Linked DNA regions of Homo sapiens: regions 1, 3 and 4 are each linked to region 2. The links are contacts of gene promoters, found by promoter capture Hi-C in human tissues and cell types (Jung and others, 2019). All regions are on one chromosome and are shown on one strand. The core of a region is centred on a gene start or on the middle of the fragment in contact, and the rest is flanking DNA. Distances in the headings are between cores, read along the strand shown.

Region 1 (6,614 bases), core at 1-2,500, 500 kb after region 2:
GGAATTTAGCAGTGTGGCAGAGTGGGATTTTCTTCTACCATATCTTTTCATCGGGGTTGAATATTTTACATAAAGAGGCACTGTGTGTGTGTGTGTGTGTGTGTGTGTGTGTGTGTCTCAGTGGTTTATAATTGTTTTTAAAAATCTTTGACAACTTGGCTTAAAGCCAGCTCAAAAGGCACAAGTATCTTGAGGATTATTCTATTTCTAAGCTATTTGGTCTCTAACTTCTTACACTATTGAAAATTCAGATGGAAGAGTAAAGGGTCTGAATAGCAATATAGAAAAGTAGGATGATCCTGGTGCTCATTCATGTTTGGAGGACATTTGGGTGGTAAACCTAAAAGGCAAGTCAAGGTCATGTTTTGTCATCACCTGAGGTTGGGGGATATTAGGGAACATTTAGTATCTGCCTTCCTCTTCATATTTCCTTGCCTTGTCTTTTGATATCCAGAGAGAGTGGACAGCTACTTATTTCTGTGACTCAAGATATCTGGAAAGACTTTTGAGGACAATTTGGGAGTTTAGGAAACTGTTAATGAAACAAATCATAAATAATACAGGCTACTGTGTGTGAATGAGTGTGTATGTGAGTGTTTGTCATTTTGTTTGCATGACCTTTTACATGGAGATAAAAGGTTACACTTTTGTCTCAGACTCTCAAGTAGTTAGAGTTTTTTCCTCCAGATTTTCAAATAATGTTTGTCTCTCCTTTAGGACTAACTCATATTGAAGCTACTGTCAATGCTCTGGTGGACATCATCCATGGCTACTGTACCTGTGAGCTGGATTGTATTAACACAGCATCCAAGATCTACATGCAGATGCTCTTGTGTCCTGTACGTAGCATTACAATCCCAGAGAGCTCGCAGCAGCCAGGGAATATCTGGAAAATTGTTTTTAGCTTGCTAAGCTAATGAAATAAAATATATTTAGAGGAAGCTGAAGGGAATGAAGTTTCAAATATCAATAAAAGCTTTAAGATCTTACTCCATGGAAGAGAAAGATTTGGAAAGGGGATGGGCTCAGTCTTTCTTATTCAGTGCTGAATCACCAGGGACAGCCTACTGCTTGCTACATAGTAAGTGCTAGGTAACTCGGTGAATTGTGACTTAAATGAGCACATGAATGAAAGTAGTACATCAAGATTTCTATTTCCAGTGACCCTTTCACAGAAGCTAAGTGTTAAAACTACTGATTTTAGCACAGAGCTAAGACGTGCGCTGGGGGCTTGATCATCTGATAAAAAGCCAGAACCATTTGTAAGGGGCCAAAATGGCCTCAGGAGCAAATGACCTGCCAGTCCATCCCCAGGAACTGAGAGACAGGAGGTTAGCGAATGGCTCTTAATGTGTGCCAGAACAGGAAGCGGGGATTAACTTAACCTGCTGAACTTGGTCCGCTGGGTTGCAGGTGAGAGTAGAGAGGTATTCCACTTGCATGTGAGTGAGTGACCAAGAAAGGAAAGTGTTTTATAGAGAGTTTCATGAATAATATGAGAGCAAAGCGTGACAGTTTCCTTTTAAACCTCAGGATCCTGCTGTGAGCTTCTCTTGTAAACAAGCTCTAATTCGAGTCCTAAGGCCCAGGAACAAACGGAGACATGTGACTTTACCCTCTTCCCCTCGAAGCAACACTCCAATGGGTAATATGAGGTCTGGGTTTAGGCTCAAGCCTGTATTTGGGAGGAGGGGAGAGAGGGAGGTACAGTAGCATTGGGCATGCTGCTCATGTTGACCAAGGTCCTGGAGACTTTATGTATCTGTCTTTTTTCTAATCCTACCTCACCCCATAAAGAATTTAGGTGGCACATCAAAATGTATATAGTAAGTAGGATAAAAATAAAGATTAAAGGCCATGGGAAAATAAAAGTACCATAGTAAAATCAAAATACAGAAAATTCACATCACAAAGGTCCTGCATGGTTGGTAAGCGAGGGTCTTATATTTGGCTGAAAGCTTCCTAAGAGCCATAGCAAAAATAAAATCACAGTGACCAAAGACAAAACAGAAACATAACTTTTCTTGGGATAGAAGCTCTTCATTAAATGTCCATTTTGTTGCCAAAGGGGCAGAATCCTTAGTGGACTTACCTACAATAAGTTGGATAGCAAATTTCACAGGAATTTCCCTCACAATACACAGTACACAATACACAATACACAATACAGTCAAGGGCATAACATTTTACGATTCAGTAAAAGCAATTCTAAAAGGTGTCTGAATAACAGAATTATATAATTCTGGTTACTTGGCTTGATTTAGAAGTAAATTTCAAATGAAAGTCACTATGTACTTTTAAATTTTCTTTCTTTCTTTCTTTCTTTCTTTCTTTCTTTCTTTCTTTCTTTCTTTCTTTCTTTCTTCCTTCCTTCCTTCCTTCCTTCCTGCCTTCCTTCCTTCCTTCCTTTCTTTCCTTCCTTCCTTCCTTCCTTTCTTTCTTTTTTCTTCCTTCCTTCCTTTCCTTTCCCTTCCTTCTTTCTTTTCTTTTCTTTTTTTCTTTTCTCTTTCTTTCTTTCTCTCTCTCTCTCGTCTTTTTTCAGAGTCTCACTGTGTCACCAAGGCTAGAGTGCAATGGTGCCATCTCAGCTCACTGCAATCTCTGCCTCCCTAGTAGCTGGGATTATAGGCGCGTGCCACCGTGCCCAGCTAATTTTTGTATTTTTAGTAGAGACAGGGTTTCACCATGTTGGCCAAGCTGGTCTCGAACTCCTGACCTCAAATGATCCGCCCGCCTCGGCCTCCCAAAGTGCTAGGATTATAGGCGCGAGCCACTGCTCGGCCTGTACTTTTAAATTTTCTAATAGCAATATTATAAAGAGTAAAAAGTAAAATTGATTTACTAATTATTTAATCCAGTATATCAAATATTATATCTACATCTTGTCAATATAAAAAATTTATTAGTGAAATATTTTGCCTGTTTTGGTACCATTTTGGGAATCCAGAATGTATTTTACACTAGTGGCACATCTCCTTTTAGACAGCCATGTTTTAAGTGCTCAGTAGTCACATGTGGCTGGTGGACAGTGCACATCTAGAGGATTGTACACAACTTTGTGACTTTCAGAAAATCTTCCTTGCATATCATTTATCTTGCCTAAGCTTTTGGGTTAGGCAGCAGTTTGTGGCTCTTTTCCCTAGCAAGAACCTAGAGTGGAGATAGTTTATGTTTCTAACGGACATATTTACAAGCTTTAGCAATCCATCGAGTGGAAGGTGAGGTCTCTATCCTCTTCTGACAATTAGGAGTCTCACCTGGACATCTTCCTTATTAGAAGGCCTTCTCACCTTCACACAAAAGTGGGCACAGGCAGGACCTGCAGTGGTGTCCTTGGTTTCCAGTCAATGGTTTTACACTTCAATTCTGGTTCTTCTCATAGTAATTACGTAGTGTGAAAATCTCACTGACCTAGTTGTTTTAGAAAAAAATAGTGAAATAAATTCTAATCTGCCATGACAGACAAAAGGTAAAGATCCCAATCATATGATTTTTCCTGTCTTATCCAAGGTCTCCTGAGAGTTAGCGTGAGTTTGGGAGGCCTACTGGTTTTAGATCTCTCACCTTTATGGAAATCCCTTTGGAATCCAAGTTTGTTTCCTTCACCAGCTGGAACATTTTATTTTTGTGGGGGGCAAGCTGTCGCAGCCAACTCCATCTTCCCAGATGCTGTAGGTCCAAGAAGTAAGAGAACAAGGCCAGGCATAGCACCCCGGAGTTCTCCCGCTAAAGCCCAGGGTGCTAGCTGGTAGCTTGTCTTGGGTTTTTGTTGCCACCTGACTTATGGCACCATGTGCCAAGGGAGGAAAGCAAGCACCTTCAGGTGACTGGGGTTTCTTTGACTCAGGAGACAAGGATGATGATGACGATGATGATGCAGATGAGAAAATGCAGTCATCAGGGATCCCGAATGGTGGTCACATCCGTCAGGAAAGCCAGGAACAGAGTGAGGTGGACCATGGAGATTTTGAGATGGTGGTGAGTCTCTGGCAGCAGGAGAAGGGGAGGAGGAGCTTCACAACTCTCCTCTAGCTCTTATTCAGTGGACTTCCAAAAGTTACCACTTACCATGGGACACTGACAGAGCTTTCTCTCTGCAGTCTGAGTCGATGGTCCTGGAGACAGCTGAAAATGTCAACAATGGCAACCCCTCTCCCCTGGAGGCCCTGCTGGCAGGCGCAGAGGGCTTCCCCCCCATGCTGGACATCCCACCTGATGCAGATGACGAGACCATGGTTGAACTAGCCATTGCCCTGAGCCTGCAGCAGGACCAACAAGGTAGAAGGCCATGCCAAGAACAAAGCGGCCCATTGGCCTTGCACAGGAAAAGAGGGTTTGGCAGTTACTGATATCCAGCTGACTTAGTTTGTCCCCAGATATGGGGAGAGGTTGATCTGGGTGAGAGCTGTTCAGAGATACAGGTGGAGAGTGAGAGGGATGTGGTGGGAATTTCAGTCTGAGTGCCAATCTCATAGTTTCTGCCAGTTTGGGTTATTTCCTCTTGAATCTTAGATTCCTCCAGCCTGTGTCCTGCCTGAGCTGAAGGAAGCATTCCACCATCTCTGTAACTGAACTTGGTGGGTGGACAGCAGTGGCTGCTAGCTAACTTCCTCTAGGCCAGAGGGGGTCACATGCTGGTGTTTGGAGACTCTTGAGGGCAGCAGGTGGCCAAAGCAGCGCTGTGGATGGGACCTGGAGGGGATGTTGTGCTCACTCTCCACTTGTTTCCCAGGCAGCAGCAGCAGTGCCCTGGGCCTGCAGAGCCTGGGACTGTCCGGCCAGGCACCCAGCTCTTCCTCTCTGGACGCAGGAACCCTCTCTGACACCACAGCATCAGGTAACTGTCCACAGCAAGGAGCACGGCTCAGGGCCCCAGGACCCTCAGGCCTTGTTTCCACTGCTGTGAGAGTGTAATGGGCAGCTGCTTTGACAGGCCATTCTGGACTTCCTGCTTCTGCCTTGGCTTTAGAAAGATGGGTGTGGAGGGTGTAGTGCTGTGGCTCGGCCCCGCCGCGCACAGCTCCGCTTCCTCACACTTTGCATGCTGCCTGGCTTCAGCTACTTCCCCACGGAAAAGCCGAGAGAGCGGCATGCAGGCTGATCAGCTACAGGGCTTCCACTTCAGCTTCCAGCGTTCTTTGTCAGAGTTCTAACATTTTAGACAGTATTAAAAGAGAGACAAGAAATAGAACTCATACCTTTTACCTTTTTTATCTTCATTTGCAAATAAAAGGAGAGCTATAAGAAGCTAGATTATACTTCAGAATTCTTGTTCAGTGTGACCAACCATCAGGATCTGTGAGCTTGAGAGAGAGGGTTTTTATGGACAATTAAAATCTATAGCAAATCTCCAGAACTCATCTTCTCTTTATTTTCAATCTTTTCCCTAATCTGATTAAAAAAAAAAAAATGTTTCCTGAATAGAGAGTTGGACCAAATGGAGATACCTGGTCAACCCCTGAGTAATTTAAGGGTTGATTTATAGTTTTTTAGACTGATGCTTCCTTGTGTTTGTTTTTTTTCTTTTCTTTTGGAAGTTTTAGCCTGGGTAGTTAAGAAAGGGAGAGAGCGGCTGGCCCCACCTGCTGCCATGGCTTGTTGCTTTTCTTAGGTCTCTTTAGTTGCTGTCATTTCAGGCTCTGAGGTTGCTGTTGTGTTGTGCCAGTCGTGTTCCCGCTGTGCTCTGTGGCTGTCTTGGCTTTCCTCCCCCATGTATCTCATCCAGCATTTTCCTCCTGTCTCAGCTCAGCCCTGATCCTGGATGCTGTGGCTGTCTCTGGGGAATTTCCTTGCTTCATTATTAGCATCTGATGAGGATGATTAGGAGGTGTGAAATTTCCCAATGAGCTCCCCTCTGGACCACTTGCTAAAAAAACCAAAACAGGGTTGATTCAAGAGCTCATGCTAAGTGATTTCCTAACATAAGCAAAACTTGACTGATTTCAAAACAAGTCTCATTAAAATTCAGAGTTCTATGCTTTGAATGGTAATGGCTAGTTTCAGATCTCTCAGCAGGTGTCAGTAACACCTAAACAATGGTGACCATGAAGCATTTTAGCTAGAAAACTCAGCGTCCATGTCACAGATTCTTACTGAATCTCTGCACTGTTCTACTTGCACTGTAATGTAAAACAGTGAAGGAAATACCCAGTGAACTGGGTTTTCTTCACTCCTGTCTAAGTACTGTTTGCAATGCACCGTGTATAGTGTTTGTTCCTGTTAGTGATTAACCAGCAAAGCAAATCTCTCCCTTTTTTCTTTGACGACAGGATATATAAACTGCATTGTGTCCTATGCACTATGTGGTTTGATGCTTTCATCCCAAGGAGGGGTTTTTTTTGTTTTTTGTTTGTTTGTTTGTTTGTTTGTTTTTTAACCTGTAACAGCTCTCGTTACTCTCTCAGCTCCAGCCTCAGACGACGAGGGCAGTACAGCAGCGACAGATGGTTCTACCCTTCGGACCTCTCCTGCTGACCACGGTGGTAGTGTGGGCTCGGAGAGCGGGGGCAGTGCAGTGGACTCAGTGGCTGGCGAGCACAGTGGTAATGTGCCATGGCGGGGGTCCTGTCTCCTTGGGCAGAGGGTGGGGACAAAACAGGAATCTCTGCTTGGGT
Region 2 (6,424 bases), core at 39-2,538:
GGGTGAGGGGCTCCTTGTTGACAAATTGCTTCCCCGCCAGCGCCCGGTCTTTGGCCTCCAGCCCTGACCTCTGTTTTCCTGGGGTGCCCCTAGTTACAGGCTGGTGGCGTCCAGCTTGGGGAGCGAGGGCCTCCGAAAGCCTGGAAGTGTGGCTTTCTCCCTTGATGCCCGCCAACCTCCGGCCACGCCAAGGCAGGCGGCTGCCCCCTTTGCCGCCGCTTGTAAACGATCAGAATCGCCCCGCCCTGGGAGCGGGCCGGGCAGGTGGCCCGCAGCAGGGCCTGTCGTCCAGCCGGCCTCGCGGGGGTGGAATTCTTAAGAAAACTGAGCCCCCGGAAAGGCTGGCTCTCCCTGCCCCAGACTCAATTCCAGGGAGATGACCCGGGCCAGGCCTCGGGGCCGGCGGGAGGCAGGGGGAGGGTTTGCCGCACCCGGTCTAGGAAACTATTCGTGAACCCCGCTGGGGGAAGGCGAGCCTCCGACACTGGGGGATTGTCTGGATCGGAGGGCGGGGGATCAGGGAGAGGCGCAGACACAGGGCGAGACCCCCACAGAGGGCAGCGCAGAGACAGAGAGAGGGAGAGAAAAGCCAGAGGCAGAGACACAAACGCGGGCAGCCGAACACGGAGGCAGGCGGGGAACGGAAAGAGACGGGCAGACCAGGGGAAAGTGAGCGGCGGAAACGGAGCGACGGAGAGACAGACACACGGACGTGGGGACCGAAGCAGAGGGGGCCGCGGGAGGCGGAAACGTCCAGAGCCGAGAGGCGCGGCGCGGCGAGGCCCGGGCACGGCCGGGGGACATGCGAGCCCGGCCCGCCCGGCCACGCATCTCCCTCCCTCGCTCCCTCTCTCCCCCGGCCGCGGAAACTCCGATCCAGAAACGGAACCCTGGGGCGAGTCTGGGGACGGGCTCCGGACGCGGCGGTGCCCCCCGGCCACCCCGTGCCGCGCCCACGTCCCCAGCGCCGGCGTCCGGAGGCGCCCGCCAGGTCCCCCAGGGCTCCTGAGCTCGGCGGCGGCGCCTCCACCCGGTGCCCGCGGCCGCCGGACGCGCCGGGGGACGCAGCTCCGGGCTGGGGGCGCGGCACTGCCCCCGCGGCCGAAGCCTCTGGAAGCCGGGCGCCCGCGTGCCGACCCGGGCGGGACTTACCGCGCGCGCCCGCCGGTCCTGCGGAGCTGGGTGCGGGGGTCGCGGGCCCGGGCGCCCCAGGAGGCTCGGCGAGGCGGCCGGCAGGGCGGGGGGCGGCCCCGCGACGCTCGGCTGGGCTGCGCTGCGCGCTGTCTGCGGCCCCGGGCGGGCGCGCGGCGCGGGGGAGCGGCTCCGACGTCAGGGTGGCTCCCTCCAAACAGGGCGCGAGGGCGGGGGCAGCGGGGAGGGCCGCGCGCAGAAAGAGCGGGCGGGCGCGCGCGGCCTCTCCCTCCGGGTGCGCAGGAGGGGGCGCCGCGGCGGCAGGGGCCCCGGGCCCTCTCCTGGCCCGCCCGCCCCGGGCTGAGCTTCGGCGCGCTCCGACGGCGTGGTGGGGCGGCCGGGACGCCTGGCCGGCGCCCGAGAGGCAGGGCAGCCCAGCCGGGCGCCCTGGCCCGTTCTTAAGCGCCCTCCCCGGGTTTCTCTGCGCTTCCACTCTCTCCGCCCGACTTTTACCGAGCCTGGGCCGTCAGGCCGTGCCAGGCCTCGGGGTGACAAAGATGGATGTGTCCTTTTTGTGGGCACCGGGCATTGCAGACTTGCCCCGAGAGTGGGGCGCCCCAGCCCGCCGCGTCCCGGCACCAGGAGTCCCCAGTTCTGCGGTGCACCTCATCCCGTCCGCTCCGGCATGCGACCCGGTTCAAGTCCGTGCTGTTGGTAGCCTGGGTTGCTCAGCCTTGCCTAGTGTTATCCTAGTGTCGCTCTCGGCCCCACGCCCTTGGCTTAAGCATCCCGAAAAGCCCCAGGGACTTATTAGGAACTAAAAAGCCAGCAAATGAACTCACTTCTCTGACTCCTGGGAAGAGTGGAGCTCCTGGCCCCAGCTTCCAGCCTCACCTCGGGGGTTCCTATCTAATCAGTGGGCACTTGGGTGGATTGCGGCCGTACCTTCTCTATTCTGTGTGCTTAACAACGGGGTGAGAAAATAACTTTGCTTCTGGAAAGTGGTGGCCCAGGGACACCACTGGGACACGATTGTAGGACTTGGGGATTTTGCTTTACAGCATAGTTACCTGTGTCCATGTGTTTTACCTAGCTTGGCTGGAAACTTCCAGATAGACACAGCCCTGCTTGTCTGACTCATGAGGTTGCCGGGCATCCTGGGTGGCTCCTAGTGGCCTGCTGGGAACTCCCTGGTGTACTCCAGCCTACTCGCACCCTCCACACCCAGCCTGCATCTGCGCCTCCTAGCTGTTGCCTGCGCCCTTCCCTCTGCCCGGAATTCCCTTCCCCTCCTTTCATCTCTGGCAAACATTCTTCCAGCTCCAGATTGGAAAGCCTTCCCAAGACCCTTTGGGAGCATCTCCCTCCTCCAGTGTGATCCTGGAGCACAGGATGAGAACTTCTGTTCATGTCAATTTCCCTCTAGAATAACTGTGTACATCTCTTGGGCAAACATTCTTCCAGCTCCAGATTGGAAAGCCTTCCCAAGACCCTCTGGGAGCATCTCCCTCCTCCAGTGTGATCCTGGAGCACAGGATGAGAACTTCTGTTCATGTCAATTTCCCTCTAGAATAGCTGTGTACATCTCTTTCCTCCATTAGACCTTGAGGGCAGGAATCGTGTTTATTTCAGTGTCTCCATTGCTTATGGGCAGGCCAGGTGAGATGTACAATGTATTTGGTTGAATGAAGTTGTTGTTGTTGTTGTTGTTGTTGTTATTATTATTATTATTAGAGACAGAATTTTGCTCTTGTTGCCCTGGCTGAAATGCAATGGCGTGATCTCGGCTCACTGCAACCTCTGCCTCCCAGGTTCCAGCAATTCTCAGCCTCCCGAGTAGCTGGGATTACAGACGCCCACCACCACGCCCAGCTAGTTTTTGTATTTTTAGTAGAGATGGGGTTTTGCCATGTTGCCCAGGCTGGTCTCCAACTCCTGGCCTCAAGTGATCCTCCCGCCTCAGCCTCCCAAAGTGTTGGGATTATAGGCATGAACCACCACGCCCAGCGAATAAAGTAATTATTATCCCCCATTAATGTAGCACAGATAGGTCTTCCCTTAATGGTAACTATGACCGTTATAATAGTTCACACATATTGAGCACCTTACCATGTGCCTCATCCCATTGCAAGCTGTTGCCACTCTCACAATAAACCTATGAGGTAAGTATTGTCTCTGTTTTAAAAGTGCCAGGCGCAGTGGCTCATGCTTGTAATCCCAGCACTTTGGGAGGCCAAGGCAGGAGGATCACTTGAGGTCAGGAGTTCGAGACCAGCCTGGCCAATATGGCGAAACCCTCTCTCTACTAAAAATACAAAAATCAGCCAGGTGTGGTGGCGTGTGCCTGTAGTCCCAGCTACTCGGGAGGCTGAGGCAGGAGAATCACTTGAACCTGAGAGGCGGAGGTTGCAGTGAGCCGAGATCGCACCACTGCACTCCAGCCTGGGAGGCAGAGTGAGACTCCATCTCAAATAAATAAATAAATAAACAAACAAACAAATAAAATAATAAAAGTGAAAAAAATCCCGAGGCTGGAGGATCACTTGATCCCAGGAGTTTGAGGCTGCAGTGAGCTATGATTGTGCCACTGTACTCCAGCCTGGACAACATTGCAGAAGGCTAATTGTGGAACCTAATGAGCTTGTCACTCCAGCAAGGCCTTGTCTCAAAAAAAAAAAAAAAAAGTGAAAAAAGGAACGTCAAGAGAAAGGTTAAGTAACTCGCCTAAAGTCACACAGTAAGAGCCCATGCCAGCTAGTGTCTGTTGGATAACTATATACCATGTACGGCAGAAACCAGCCTCACTGCACTGTACACAGTAGACACTCAGGAAATATTTACCATTTTGCAGCCAAAGCTTACCCCCGCCATCTTTCATGCAGACCCCGAGCAGGGTAGAAAGTAGAGTTCTACATTTTGTAAGAATCCACTCCCACATTGCAGAAAGCTAATTGTGGAGCCTGATGAGCTGGTCAGATCACACATAGAGCCAGGAGTAGAAGCCACAACTTCCAGCCAGTGCCCTTGACAGGGCAGCCCACCATCTCTCAAACACCGGGAGGTTCAAGAACAACACCAACCCCCTAATCAGGGACAAAGGGTTTGGAGTTGAGTCACCATCTGTCTGGTGACGGGAAAGCTACAGTGTGGGCAGGGGGCCTGGGAAGTAACTTGGTAGTAATATCTACCCATTTTGTGCCAGGCATTATGCTGGTCACTCTGTCTGCTTCATCTCCTCTAATCCTTACCACAGTCCCATCATTGTTCCCATTTTACAGGTAAGAAAAATCGAGGCACCAAAATGTGTCATTACCTGCTCAAGACCACATTGCTAGTGATTAACAAAGCCTGGACTTGAGCCCAGACCTGTCAACACCAAAGTCCATGCTTCCTTGCCCACCACACCCTCTCCACCCTCTCGGCTGCCTCAGTGCTCCTCCCCATCAGGCTGCAGCAGGGATGCTGCACTGAAGATGGACCCCAGGGGCCCCAGCGGGAAAGGCAGAACCTGTCACGTCAGAGTGTCCCAGCTCGAGCAGATGCACCTGGTTGGCAGTGGTGTTCCAGCTGCCCCTACAGGCCTGGCTGGCACAGGGCATGGGCCTGAGGCCAGAGCCTCCTGGCCCTGGGCCAGCCTCTTGGGGCCGAGGTAATGTGGGGCCCAGAGCTGGGGCTCAGGGCTAAAAGCCCCTCTCCCCAGCTCATTAGCAAACATCTGGGCTCAGGAAAATGACCGACCTGGAATGTGACTGAGCTGTGGGGAGCTGCTCTCTCCCAGAGTCCGGGAATGTGAGCTCCCTCCTGCAGGGCACGGACTCAGCCCAGCTGTTTCCTCTAATCCTGTCAGTCTGGCCTCAACGGGGGTCCAAACCTCTGCACTCTCGCTGGAGAAATAGAATGAAAACAAGCAAAAGGCCTGTCTTCCCAGTCCAGCCCACTGAACAGAGGGTTGGTACACAGTCCCTCTCTTTTTATGATAAAGATGAGAGCGTTCACACCTCCAGGTATGGAGCTGGGAGGAGCCATTCGGACTCATCAGGGGAGGCTCAGGGTTTACATTGTTCCTGCATCGCCCTCTGACTCTGTGCTAGTTGTTTCACACCTGGGCCTTGGTTTCCTTATCTGTAAAATGCAGTTAGTAGTGCTATGTACTCCATAGATTTGTTGTCTGGAGTCATTCATTTATCCAACAAATACTTATTGTGCCTGTTATGTGCCAGACATGCACAGAGGTGTTGAGGACACAACAACAGACTAGACCAATAAGGTCCCAGCCTCCAAGGAGCTTATGTTCTGCCACACCCAGGCAGATTGTGCAACAGATAAACAGATGAGTGGATCTCACATAACCAATGTGTTCTGAAGGTTCCAGGTTCAGTTGTTTAATATTTATTTAAAAGAGCCAGGCGTGATGGCTCACGCCTGCAATCCCAGCACTTTAGGAGGCCGAGTTGGGTGGATCATTTGAGGTCAGGAGTTCAAGACCAGCCTGGCCAACATGGTGAAACCCCGTCTCTAATAAAAAGACAAAAATTAGCCCGGTGTGGTGGTACGTGCCTGTAATCCCAGCTATTTGGGAGGCTAAGGCAGGATAATTGCTTGAACCTGGGAGGCGGAGGTTGCAGTGAACCGAGATCATGCCAGAGCACTCCAGCCTGGGTGATGGAGTGAGATTCTGTCTCGAAAAATAATCATCATAATAATATTTATTTAAAAGAAAAAAAGGAGAGGCCAGGCGTGGTGGCTCATGCCTGTAATCTCAGCACTTTGGGAGGCTGAGGCAGGTGGATCACCTGAGGTCAGGAGTTCAAGACCAGCCTGGCCAACACGGTGAAACCCCATCTCTACCAAAAATACAAAATTAGCTGGGTGTGGTGGTGCGTGCCTGTAATCCCAGCTACCTGGGAGGCAGAGGTTGCAGCGAGCTGAGATCGCACCATTGCACTCCAGCCTGGGTGACAGAGCGAGACTCTGTCTCCAGAAAAAAAAAAAGAAAAAAAGGAGAAAAAGTATTATGAACGAACTAAGCCAGAGGGGGCGATGTGATGGGGGAGGTATGAACTCACTGAGAAGCCTCAGAAAACGTCGCAAAGAGGTGACACTTAAGGTGAGATTATAATGAGATGGAGCAAGGATTCAAGGAGATAAATGGATGCAAAGCTCTCGGCACAGTTCCTGGAAAATAGCACGTGCTCCATAAAATGAAAGCTATTTCAGGGAGGTTTCATATATATAGCTCAGGAAAGGTGCTGGAGTCAGATGCCCTGGATCAAATCCAGGATTCAGCACAAAG
Region 3 (5,930 bases), core at 1,402-3,901, 280 kb after region 2:
TGCCAGGTGCCATGGCAAGTGCTTGCCCGTTCATTTTTTTCTTGTGATCTTCCTTATATCTCCTCATGCTTGTTTGCCAGATGCATCTTGAGTGCAGGCTGGTATAACCAGTGTAAGGAAGAGAACCCACACTCTCCAGCCCCTCGTGTGCCGTCTGCAGCTCTCTGGACTTTGCAACATTGTGCCCACTGGGCAGCACCCACGCCCATCCATTGGACAGGGGATGCGCTCAGCTTCTTTTTGAAGTTGGCTAGATGGCAGCCAGCAGAGCAAAAAGGAACGTTGGTCTACACCACGAGGAAGGGAGCCAGGTTTTGGATGCCCCTCTGAGCAGAATGGACAGTTTTCTCTTTTTCCTGAGGTGGAGTTGGATTGTTCCCACCTGTGAAGACCAGGTGCCTGTTTTGTTGTAAGGATGTTAAGGATGATCAGAAAAACAAACTACTGCTGATAGCTGGGGATTTTAGTTTCTTTTTTACCCTAGGAGGGAACAAAAAGGCATTGTTTTAGGGCCAGAACCTCAGCTGCCGGGGAATGGCTCTGCCTCTGGGTTTTATTCTCTTCCTCTTTGCCATAAAATCAGTCATGGAGCTTGGGAGTTTCTGTTTGTTTGTTGTTGTTGTTTCTTTTGAGATGGAGTCTCGCTCTTTTTGCTCAGGCTGGAGTGCAGTGGCGCCATCTCAAGGCACTATAACCTCTGCCTCCCGGGTTCAAGCAATTCTCCTGTCTCAGCCTCCTGAGTAACTGGGATTACAAGCACCTGCCACCATGCCTGGCTAATTTTTGTATTTTTAGTAGAAATGGGATTCACCATGCTGGCCAGGCTGGTTTCGAACTCCTGACCTCAGGTGATCTGCCGGCCTCGGCTTCCCAAAGTGCCGGGATTATAGGCATGAGCCACCGCACCCGGCCAGGAGTTTGTTTGAACTCATGCCTGTATGACCTTGTCTTTGTCATGACCAAGCACCAGTACAGCAAAAAGTGTCCCTCATGACCATTTATTTTATTTATATATATATATATATATATATATATTTTAAGACACGGTCTCACTATGTTGCCCAGGCTGGTCTTGAACTCCTGGAGTCAAGTGATCCCCCCACCTTGGCCTCCCAAAGTGCTGGGATTATAGGCGTGAGCCACCATGCCTGACCTAAGACCACTTATTTGTCCCAAGTCTTGCTGCTACTCCTTGGTGAGATCCCAGAAGCAGAACACACCATACATGTGACGGGAGAACATAGGGTAGGAGAAGAAAGACTCGTGGAATCTTACATGTTGGAGCTGTTTGAGGGCCCAGGTTCCTAGCTTAGCACCAGATCATAGAGGAATTCTGCTTTTTTCAGTTACATCAACACTTCAAATTTTTTAGCCTGAGCTCTTCAGCCGGCATTCCAGCCAGCCCCACCTCCTGTGTTCCCTTCTACTTCTGCCTCATCAAGGCTGTGGGCGTTTCCATCTTTTCTTTTTCTTTTTTTCTTTTTGAGACGGAGTTTCACTCTTGTTACTCAGGCTGGAGTGCAATGGCATGATCTCGGCTCACCGCAACCTCTGCCTCCCGGGTTCAAGCGATTCTCCTGCCTCAGCCTCCCAAGTCGCTGGGATTACAGGCATGCACCACCACGCCCGACTAATTTTGTGTGTTTTTTTAATAGAGACGGGGCTTCTCCATGTGGGTCAGGCTGGTCTCGAACTCCTGACCTCAGGTGATCTGCCCGTCTCGGCCTCCCTAAATGCTGGGATTACAGGCGTGAGCCACCATGCCCGGCCTGGTTTCCATCTTTATACTGACTCCAACATGAAAAAAGTGCCCAGACCAGAGCCCTCCTTCCTGGTGGACCATCAGTTTCTCCACAGAAGCCTTCACTAGGGCTGCCCGTGCTCTTTCTGGAAATCCACGCGATCTGGAACTCAGTGACATCCTCATTTGCACAGTCTCCTGCTTTCACGTATATTCCTGTGCATAAAGACTTCGGGGGAAGAGTGGCTTGGATAGAATACAGATCACAACAGCTTCGGGATCCCAAAAGAGACGTTGAAATGTTGAAGCCATGTCTACGAGAGTGATCTGTCACAGATTTGAGTGGAAAGTGATATTCTTGGGTCCAGTCTACCAAGTTCTCAAGTCCAGGATGTGAGAGGTATTTTCATGGCAACACATAAGAAAAAATATTCAGCTGTACACGGTGACTTATGCCTATAATCCCAGCACTTTGGGAGGCCGAGGTGGGAAGATTACTTGAGCCCAGGAGTTCAAGACCTGCCTGAGCATAGCGAGACCCTGTCTCTACAAAAAAATTTAAAATTACCCAGGTGTGGTGGCATGCACCTGTAGTCCCAGCTACTCAGGAGGCTGAGGTGGGAGGATCACTTGAGCCCAGAATGTCGAGGCTGCAATGAGCCATGGTCATGCCATTGCACTCCAACCTGGGCAAGAGAACGAGACCCTGTCTCAAAAAAAGAGAGAAAAAAAAAAAGAAAAAATACTCCATTTGAGATGACTGCAAGTTCAGTATGTGTAGCATGGATTAGGTGTGATTGCTAATGAAAGCTAATTTGGTCTTGAGTGCTGGAGGGAGGAGTAGCCTGTTTGCCAAGAGATGTGCTGGTCCCTGCTATGCATTGGTTAACACTTAGTTGGGGCATTGTTTTCTGTTCTTTTATGAAGGACATTGACAAGCTGGAGTATGTTCAGAAGGATAAACAAGGTATTGAGTCGTATGAGGAATTACAAGGAGGAGAAGGCCAGAAAAGAGAAATCTTGGTGTAAGCCAGTTTTAAATGTTTGAAAGGACTATGCAAGGAAAGGGCATGAAGTCCTTGTTTTTTTGTGATTCTGGAAGGCAGTAGTGAGAAGTCTTCACTCAAGTCCAGAGAGAACTGTCTCAGTTGTTCAGAACAGAAATGTTTGCCTCAGGAATGTAATGAGTTCACTGTCACTGGAGGTGTGTAAGCAGCAGTTTGACAGAGACTAAGATGTTAGGAACCTGCCCTGTGGTGCTCAGTCTGCCTCATACAGGCCCTGATGCAACCACCAAATCCTGGAATGTCAGAACTGGGAGGACCCTCTACGCTGGCCTCTGATCCAGCTCTTTGATTTTACAAATAAGAAAAAAGTCTTTTGCACTGTGTTGGTGCCAAATATTGCCTTTCCCTTGGCTTTATTCAGTGAAGTTGACTGCAAGAGAAAGCCCTGTTCCAGCACCTATGGAGCTCACCTTAATAATGCCCCTAACTTGGCTGCTGCCTGTGCCTCAGCGTCACAGGTATCTCAGGCCAGAGGTCCAAGTCCTGTGAGTGTGGCCCAGCCCACTAATAGCCAGAAGGACATGTCTCAGTGAACCCTAGAACCACAGAGTCTGTTTCTTGGCTCATGCTGGAAAGCCCTGCTCCCAGCAGGTCTGTCCTGGCCTTGGTTCTTGTGGCATGTGGCATGTACTCATTATCTGTTGGGAGCCTTTGTATTCGAGCCACGAATCCAGCTCTTCTCCCAGGAGGTGATGTGAAAGGAAGGAGTAAAGAGCAGCTTCAAAGCCCCTTCTTCCCCTCCCGTTTTCCCTGTTAGATTTGCAGCCCCGTGTTGGCCAGGCCTGGGAATTGGGTCATTCATAGTTACAGCTCAGATTCCCCGAGCACGTTTCCACCCCACGCACACCTCAGCTTCAGACACTCCATAAAGCTTTTGGAGCTGAAACATTTTCTTTTCTTTTTACTTTTGTGAATTAGGTCATTTTGAGTGTGAAGTATTATGTTTTCCCTTTTTTCTCCTTCCCCCCAGAAGTCCTGTGGTTGAAAAGTTACGGACATAGAATCTATATCCGTGACTATGACATTATTCAACTGGAAGAGTGATTTTCAGGGAGAAACGACCTAAAACTCTGAGAAGAAGAGAATTACTGACACATTAGGCTTTTAGCTGATCCACGTTTAGGGACCAAGGTGACGATAGACAAAAACCCAACCAGATGTTTAATTGTAATTGGCTGTGCTGATAAACGGCTTGAGACCAGCCTGGGCAACATAGCAAGACCCTGTCTCTAAAAAAAAAAAAAAAAAAATTTTTTTTTTAATTAGCCATGCATGGTGGTGCATGCCTGTGGTCCCAGCTGCTTGGGAGGCTGGGGAAGGAGGATCACTTGAACCCAGGAAGTCGAGGCTGCAGTGAGCGGTGATCGCACCACCACACTCCAGCCTGGGCATCAAAGCAAGACCCTGTCTCAAAAAACAAAACAAGATGTTAATCTGTGTTAGGAAAGTCTTAAAAGGCGCCGGGACCGTTGGTAAAACTGATGGCACTCAGTTGAAAGAGTTAGCTCTTCAGTGGACGCAAGCAAACAGGTGACTCCAGCACTTTGCTCCCAGTCATTCCCAAGTTGGTCTGTCATTTCACCCCCTCCTCATCTTCCTGGAGCTTCTGAGGCCCCCCCACTTCATGGTTCAACACTTGTCCAAGTTGACTTCTCTGCAGTCTTTGCAAGCTAGTCCCTGTGTTGTCCTGGCCACTGGGGAGCTCTGATTTGAGCATGTCATTCAGCCTCTTGACTGTGGGGATTGATTTCAGCCCTGTGCTGCCCGTGCTGTCTGGCTTTCCATTTAGGAAAGAAGCCTAGGAAAAGCTCATGCATTTCTCTTTGGGCCTCCACGGTTTTTTTTTTCTTTCTTTTTTCTTTTTTTTATAGAGGCTGGCCTCGAACTCCTGGGCTCAAGCAGTCCTCCCACCTCAGCCTCCCAAAGTGCTAGGATTACAGGTGTGAGCCACTGCGCCTGGTCCTAGGCCTGCATGTTTAAAAGAGGTTCTTGACCAGACGTGGTGGCTCACGCCTGTAATCCCAACACTGAGTGGAGACCGAGGCCAGGAGTTAGAGACCAGCCTGGGCAACATGGTGAGACCCAGTCTCTACTAAAAATACAATAATTATCCAGGCATGTTGGCAGACCCCTGGAATCCCAGCTACTTGGGAAGCTGAAGCAGGAGAATCACTTGAACCCGGGAAGTGGAGGTCGCAGTGAGCTGAGGTCATGCCACTGCACTCCAGCCTGGGCGACAGAGCGAGACTCTGTCTCAAAAAAATAAAATAAAGCACTCCAGCCTGGGCGACAGAGAGACTCTGTCTCAAAAAAATATAATAAAAATTTCCCCCTTCTACCTCCTTGACCAGAGACCTCACTGCAGGGACTCTCTGGGATTTTCCTCTTGAGCCCAAATCAGCTGAGCTGTGGTAGTGAGTCCTGGGCCCATTCCTCCCTCCCTGCAGAGTTGGGAGATTTTGAAATTATCAGGCATGGGCAGGGGCCAGGGCAGGGCGGATTAATTCCTCTGCAGCCTGCTCTCAGCGCTTGGCCACATTTGATCATTCACTCACATGGAAGTACAAGGCCTGAGAGTGAGTCGCTGGCGATGGTAGAGCCACCTTATTGAAATAGCATGTTAGCATTTAAACAATATTAATACTATTTGACTCATTAAATATACAAAGACCAGTTAAACTGCTTCCATGTATGTGCTGTTAATTCTGGCGGGCGACTCCTCAGATGGCTTTATGTGGTTTCAGACAACGTTTTAGCACATTCTTAAAATACCCACAAAAGCCTTTATGTAAAAACTCATAAATGCAAACCACATAAAAATTATTTTTTCCTTGTTTCATATCATTATGATCAAAGTACAGTAGGTAAGAAATAAATTTTCAAAAACGTGTTGTGGTCCCCCTTTAATTAATGCTTCACGCGCAGAGCAAAGCCATAAACCATGTAGCGGGGGCGCTGTCTGTGCGCCCTGCAGTCACCTCCCTCCTGAAGGTGCCGGAGCGCCCTGATGGCACTCGCAGGAGAGGCTGGTGCTTCTGGGCAATTCTGAAACAGGCCTTTCTAACCATGCAGTCCTCTGCTCCCTTTGTCTCGGAATGTCAGGTTGAGACTTGTGGCTGCTC
Region 4 (6,218 bases), core at 2,817-5,316, 460 kb after region 2:
AAATATCTCTATGATTATGTTTTTTATTTTGTGCCTTTCACAACAGCACTATCAGAATTTCCAATTGCTGGGTGCTTGGTGCTTGTTAAACAGCCTTTTCCTCATACTGAACCTCAGTCCTACTGCGTTGGCTGATAAGGGGAAAGAGAAGGACCCACTGGCTGCCCTCCGAGTCAGAGACATCCTTTCTCGTACTAAAGAGGGAGTGGGCTCCCCTAAACTGGGGCCTGGAAAAGGGTATGTGTCTACTTGATTATAACTTATATTTTGTTTTATTTCGCTAACATTTTATATTTACAGGGAGCTAGTATGACTTCATATCAATAGGAAAATTTGCCTTCCTACCTGGCTTGAATTTAGCAACTAAGATAATGATCATGACCTGTTATCTCCACAGCATAGCTTTGTGATTTTTAGATAAGTCACTCATTCTCTTTGATTCTATTTCCTCATCTGTCAAAGGGGAAAAATATCTGTGCAATGTGTATTTCAGGAATTTTATGAAGTTCACATCAGAAAAACATGTTTCTGTCTTGTAAAGCGGGCTTGTTTGACTTGGAGTTGAGTACTTGCGTGTATAACCTGTAAGATGAGAATATTGTCAGGGCCTCCTGGTTTGCTTCCTGTAATATTTGCTGTTGTTTTGATGAACTCTGAAAGAAGAGATATGACCAATGTACTGTTCAGGTTTCGTTTTCTAAGCCCAGGTGTTTCTGGATTTTATTTTTTCATTCAATCCCTATTATATACTAGGCCCTATTCTAGGCATTGAGGATATAGCACTAAACAAAGTGATGTCCTTGCCTTTATGGAGTTTATTTTATATCTGGAGAAACAATGAACAAATCTATTAACGAGTAGATTATAGATAATCATATATAAACGTTGTGAAGAAAAAGATGTCAGAGCGAGGGGCCGGAGAGTCATAGGGGCTTTTATTATTTTATTTTTTTTGAGACATAGTCTCCCTCTGTTGCCCATGCTGGAGTGCAGTGGCGTGATTGTGGCTCACTGTAACCTCCACTTCGCGGGTTCAAGCAATTCTCATGCCTCAGCCTCCCAAGTAGCTGGGATTACAGGTGAATGCCACCACACCCAGCTAATTTTTGTATTTTTAGTAGAGACGGGGTTTCACCATGTTGGCCAGGCAGGGTCTCGAACTCTTGGCCTCAAATGATCTGCCCACCTCAGCCTCCTAGAGTGCTGGGATTACAGGTGTGAGCCACTGCGCCCAGCCCAGGGCTATTATTTTAGTTATTTAGTTATTTAGGATGATCCAGAAAGGGCTCCAAAGACATGATGTAGAGACCATATGTGAAGTGACAGAGCTATGTAAGTATTTGGGGTAGAATTGTTCAGGTTTGAGATGGAAGTATCATTGACATTTCTGAGGGTCAGCAAGGTCAGTGTGGCTAAAATGGAGAAACCAAGGTGGGAGAGTGGTAGAAAATTAGGTCAGACAGGTAGCCAGTGGCCAGATCACCTAGGGCCAAGTGCAGTCAGTAACTGTTAGAAGGATTAAACAAGGGAGAGATGCAACCTGATTTATTGGTGATCTGAGGATAGACTGCAGGGCATAAGATAAGAAGGAGGGAGAACAGTTAGCAGCGAATGCATCATTCCAGATGAGATATGAAGGTGACTTGGATAGGGTGGTGCGGCAAAGGCTGAGAAAAGAGGCCGAATTGAAATATATTTGGAAGGTACAGCTGGCAGGATTTACTGATGGCTTGTATGTTGGGTGTGAAAAAGATGACATCACAATTTTTTGGCTTGAGGTCACTGGGTTGTATAATTTACTGATACTGGGAACACTTGTTTAGGAGTGGGTTGAATGGGAAGATGGGGAAGAAATAAAAACGTAATATTGGCCATGCTGAGTGTAAGATGACTGTCAGACCTCTATGTGAGATGTTGAGTGGGCAGTTGGATATGTGAGTCTGGAGTTTCAGGAAGAGGTCACAGCCTGGACTGCATTAACAAATTACCCTCTGAGCATCTTCTGTGTCCCAGGCTCTGTGTTAGTTCTGGATTGCTGTGATGAACATAAAAATGGACATATTCTCAAGAGACATGAACTAGGTATCCATACAAATATATATATATATATATTTTTTTTTTTTTTTTTTTTTGAGGCAGAGTCTCGCTCTGTTGCCCAGGCTGGAGTGTAGTGGTGCAGTCTCAACTCACTGCAACCTCTGCCTCCCAGGTTCAAGCAATTCTTGTGCCTCAGCCACCAGGTAGCTAGGATTACAGGTGTGTACCACCATGCCCAGCTGATTTTTTTTTTTTGTATTTTTAATAGAGTTGGGGTTTCGCCATGTTGGCTAGGCTGGTATTGAACTCCTGGCCTCAAGTGATCTGCCTGCCTCAGCATCCCAAAGTGCTGGGATTACAGGCATGAGCCAATCTGCCTGGCCATGTCAAATTGTATCTAGAGAGTATTAGAACAGGGGCATTTGACCTGGCTAGGGACATCAGAGCAGGCTTCCCCAAGGAATTGCTAATTAAGCTGAAATCTGAAGCCGGTATTGACATGGTAAGTTGATAGATACTAGGCGAAGTAAGGAGGTAAGAGTGTTCCAGAGCAAACGGTAGTTTGTGATTTTATGAGTGGCCATTTTCATTCTTGGCATTGTAAAGGGAAATGAAAGAATGCCAAGAAGTATATCCTTAGAAGTAGCAGTTATGCTTTTAAAATGGCTGTTGTTTCTTCATATTTTAAAAGAATACATGTATGTTGTATAAGTGACAAGCCATACAGATGGACATAAATAGGAAAGGTAAAAATGATCCCAAATTCTACCACTCAAATTGGTAAACATTCCTTCAGACATTTTTCTGTGCACATATAAAATATATATAAGTTTACAAAAATGGGATCAGTGTATATGAAATACTGCATCATCTTTTCAGTGACACTATTAAAATGTCTAAGTTTTTAATGGCCAGCAGTATTCCACTATGTAAATATACCGTAGTTGCCTAATTCCCCTATTGCTAAGCGCTTATTTAGATTGTTCCAAATGTCTTGTTTTGATAACTTCCTGAAATATAAACTTTTGGGAACTTAATTGTCCTGTTGGGATGAATTCCCAAAAGTACCGTTGTTAGGACAAAGGGCTCACATATTTAAACATTGGAAATGTTTTGTCAAACTACTCGTTAGAAAAGTAACACTAATCTGCATTGACACCAGCTGTGTGCTTATATGCCCATTTCCCCATGCTCTCTTTGACAATGGGCATCATTAGTCTTCATGTTTGCTTGTCTTAGAGGAGAGAATGCTATGATATTTCATGTATTTGTATTTCTTTGATTACTAATGTGATTGTATTTCCTTTCACCTATTTATTGGTCATTTGTATTTCTTTTGTAAACTGCCTTATGTCCTTTGCCTTGGTTTTCTTTTTGGTATTTGTCATTTTCTTTTTAATTTTTTTATTATTATTTTTACAGAGGTAGAGTCACTTTGTCTCCTAGGCTAGAGTGCAATGGTAGGATTATAGCTCACTGTAACCTTGAACTCCTGGGCTCTGGTGATCCTCCCACCTCAGCCTCCTGAGTAGCTAGGACTACAGGTGTGCACCACCATGCCCAGCTAATTTTTAAAATTTTTTGCAGAGATGGGATCTTGCTGTGTTGACCAGGCTGGTCTTGCACTCTTGGCCCCAAGCAATCCTCCTGCCTTGGCCTCCCAAAGTGCTGGGATAATAGATGTGAGCCACCGCATCTGGCCTGTGTTTGTTCTTTTTTCTTTTTGATTTATATGAACTTGCAAATCATATATATTAACCTTTTGTTATGTGGAGATTTTGGACAGGAGGAAAACACTTTACTTGAATGTAATTTTCTTTTCTCTCTTTTGTTTTAAACAAAACCTCACTCTATCGCCCAGGTTGGAGTGCAGTAGTATGAACACAGTTCACTGCAGCCTCCACCTCCTGGGCTCAAGTGATCCTTCTGCCCCGGCCTGTTGGGTAGCTGGCACCACAGGTGTGCCTCACCACTTCTGGCTAAGTTTTTCATATTTTGTAGAGATGGGGTCTTGCCATGTTGCCCAGGTTGGTCTTGAACTTCTGGGCTCAAGTGATCTTCCCACCTTGGCCTCCCCAAGTGCTGGGATTATAGGCATGAGCCACTGCTCCAGGCCTCTCTTTTTATTCTCTTAGATTTGTTTCCAGATATTTTATAGAAGTTGGTAATTCAAACCTTTTTCTTTTCAAAATAATGATTCTTTAAAAGTTCAATCTACATTTAAAAGTCAGCATCTTTGTATAACCCATTAGCCTTGAACTGATTGTTTAAATTCCAAAAATTTTTCCATTTGGGAGTTTCTTCTATTCCAGGAGGTTTTATTTATTTATTTATTTATTTATTTATTTATTTATTTAATTTTTTGTTTTGAGACAAGGTCTTGTTCTGTCACCCAGGCTGGAGTGCAGTGGTGCACCTCAGCCTCCCAAGTAGCTGGTACCATAGGTACATGCCACCATGCCTGGGTAACTTTTTAATTTTTTTGTAGAGACAGGGTCTCCCTCTCTAGGTTGCCAAGCTGGTCTAAAATTGCTGGGCATAAGTGATCCTCTCATCTCGGCCTCTCAAAAGTGTTGGGATTTAAGGTGTGAGCCACCGTGCCCAGCCTAGTCCAGGAGTTCTAAACCTGAAGCCTGCAGATCCTTAGGCCATCTGTGGATGGGGTTCAAGGAGATTGTGAACTTCAGAAATTATATGCAGATGTATGTATGTACAATTTTTTTTTTCTGAAGGTCCACAGAGTCTGAAAGGGGTCTGAAACCCCAAAATGGCAAGATCCACTGCTTCAGAAGTTGTAATTTATTGTTAATTATTTTAAGGATTGTGTTTTCCTTTTTCTTTGTGTAGGCATCAGGGATTTGGGGTACTCTCAGTAATATTGGCAAACCATGCCATCAAACTGCTAACGTCTCTCTTTCAAGACCTACAAGTGGAGGCCCTTCACAAGGTGAGGAGGTTATCCCCATGGTAATCAGCATATTGATTGCGGGATCCACTTCTGGCCAAGCAAGCTTGATCCATCAACTCAAGTTGTTTTTTCTGGCTGAGTAGTATCATTAATTGCCCTTTGATATCATTGCCTTCAGGGTTGGGAGACAGATGGCCCCCCTGCAGCCTTGAGCATTATGGCCCAGAGCACCTCCATACAGAGGATTCAACGGCTGATTGACTCTGTCCCACTGATGAACCTGCTCTTGACGTTACTTTCAACTTCCTACAGAAAGGTGGGTGGGAGTTAAGCCATTGATAATTTAGAAGAATGTCTCATTTTATATATATGATATATATATGTATATATATATATATATATAAAACTTTCTTGAAATGAATAAGACTGACTACACACCATGACCTTTATAGACCCAAAGTTTTGGTACTGGTGTTGAAGAAGTGAAAAATTCTTAGCGGGTTGAATCTATCCAAACATTTGAATCAGTTATTAATTATCAGTTTTGTGATACACGTGGCTACTTGGTGATTTGTGATGATTGGCATACTGAAGCAGAAGCATAGAGGACACTATGGAAACACTCCTGTTTTCAATTCTTGTCCACGTCTCTGGTTGGTAGTGTTTTTGTAGGGTAAAGTGATGAAAGTCCTTAATTAAGGGAGCTATTAAGAGGCATACTCTTGGATTTAGGAAAAAATAAAAGAGATTATGGAGAAAGTTTTCATGCGATGCATGAGATTAAATAGGATGGCTCCGGTTTTGTAATTGTCATTTTCCTAGGCATGTGTCCTGCAGCGGCAGAGGAAGGGCTCCATGAGCAGCGATGCCAGCGCCTCCACCGACTCCAATACTTACTATGAGGACGATTTCAGTAGCACGGAGGAGGACAGCAGCCAAGGTAGAGGCCGCTCTTTTCTCTCTCCCAGAGATAAGCTATAGAGTGCAACAGGAGTGTTCTCAGCAGATTCCTGTAGTTTCCTGACCAAACAAAAGTTTCCATTTTGTTTTCACCTGCTTAGCCTGGACCTTGGTTTTATGTGCATTCAAAGATGACATGTTATTTAAGAGCAAGTTGAGCTGTTGATGAATGAATGATGGAAACAACTTTCAGCCAAGCCTGGGTTACTTTTCATTCCTTTCCCTCCAAAATCAGAAAACATCTCAATTGTTCCATATTTCTTCCTGTGTTGACTCATTTTGTGACCTCTGCTCTAAGCTTTCTCAGTGAAAC

The links. The method cuts DNA at HindIII sites, captures the fragments that hold promoters and counts their contacts. A contact is called where the count stands out against the background at its distance.
Region 1: a contact is called between a fragment that was not itself captured here and the fragment with the promoter of NBL1 in region 2, in 2 of the 25 tissues and cell types used here (adrenal gland and heart right ventricle).
Region 3: a fragment that was not itself captured here is called in contact with the fragment with the promoter of NBL1 in region 2 in 1 of the 25 tissues and cell types used here (dorsolateral prefrontal cortex).
Region 4: a contact is called between a fragment that was not itself captured here and the fragment with the promoter of NBL1 in region 2, in 1 of the 25 tissues and cell types used here (IMR-90 fibroblasts).

Annotation. Positions count from the first base shown.
Region 1 is chr1:19,139,011-19,145,624 of GRCh38, reverse strand. It overlaps UBR4 (ubiquitin protein ligase E3 component n-recognin 4), which reads left to right. Exons shown (of 106, transcript NM_020765.3): 54 at 718-839; 55 at 1,534-1,645; 56 at 3,848-3,978; 57 at 4,101-4,278; 58 at 4,733-4,837; 59 at 6,405-6,542. Among named protein-coding and RNA genes, the nearest start is that of UBR4, 68 kb to the left of the region's middle. RefSeq lists an enhancer at 5,503-6,252. The HindIII fragment of the contact is 3,798 bases long and covers 1-3,149 here.
Region 2 is chr1:19,639,175-19,645,598 of GRCh38, reverse strand. It overlaps NBL1 (NBL1, DAN family BMP antagonist), which reads right to left and starts at 1,288. Exons shown (of 4, transcript NM_005380.8): 1 at 1,153-1,288. All of the region lies in intron 1 of MICOS10-NBL1 (MICOS10-NBL1 readthrough), which reads right to left. RefSeq lists a silencer at 1,203-1,542 and an enhancer at 1,441-2,276. The HindIII fragment of the contact is 7,978 bases long and covers 309-6,424 here.
Region 3 is chr1:19,361,389-19,367,318 of GRCh38, reverse strand. The region is part of intron 4 of CAPZB (capping actin protein of muscle Z-line subunit beta); the gene reads left to right. Among named protein-coding and RNA genes, the nearest start is that of SLC66A1, 52 kb to the right of the region's middle. The HindIII fragment of the contact is 6,424 bases long and covers 1-5,863 here.
Region 4 is chr1:19,186,207-19,192,424 of GRCh38, reverse strand. UBR4 (ubiquitin protein ligase E3 component n-recognin 4) reads left to right here. Exons shown (of 106, transcript NM_020765.3): 11 at 47-237; 12 at 4,885-4,984; 13 at 5,124-5,261; 14 at 5,768-5,885. Among named protein-coding and RNA genes, the nearest start is that of UBR4, 21 kb to the left of the region's middle. The HindIII fragment of the contact is 7,277 bases long and covers 428-6,218 here.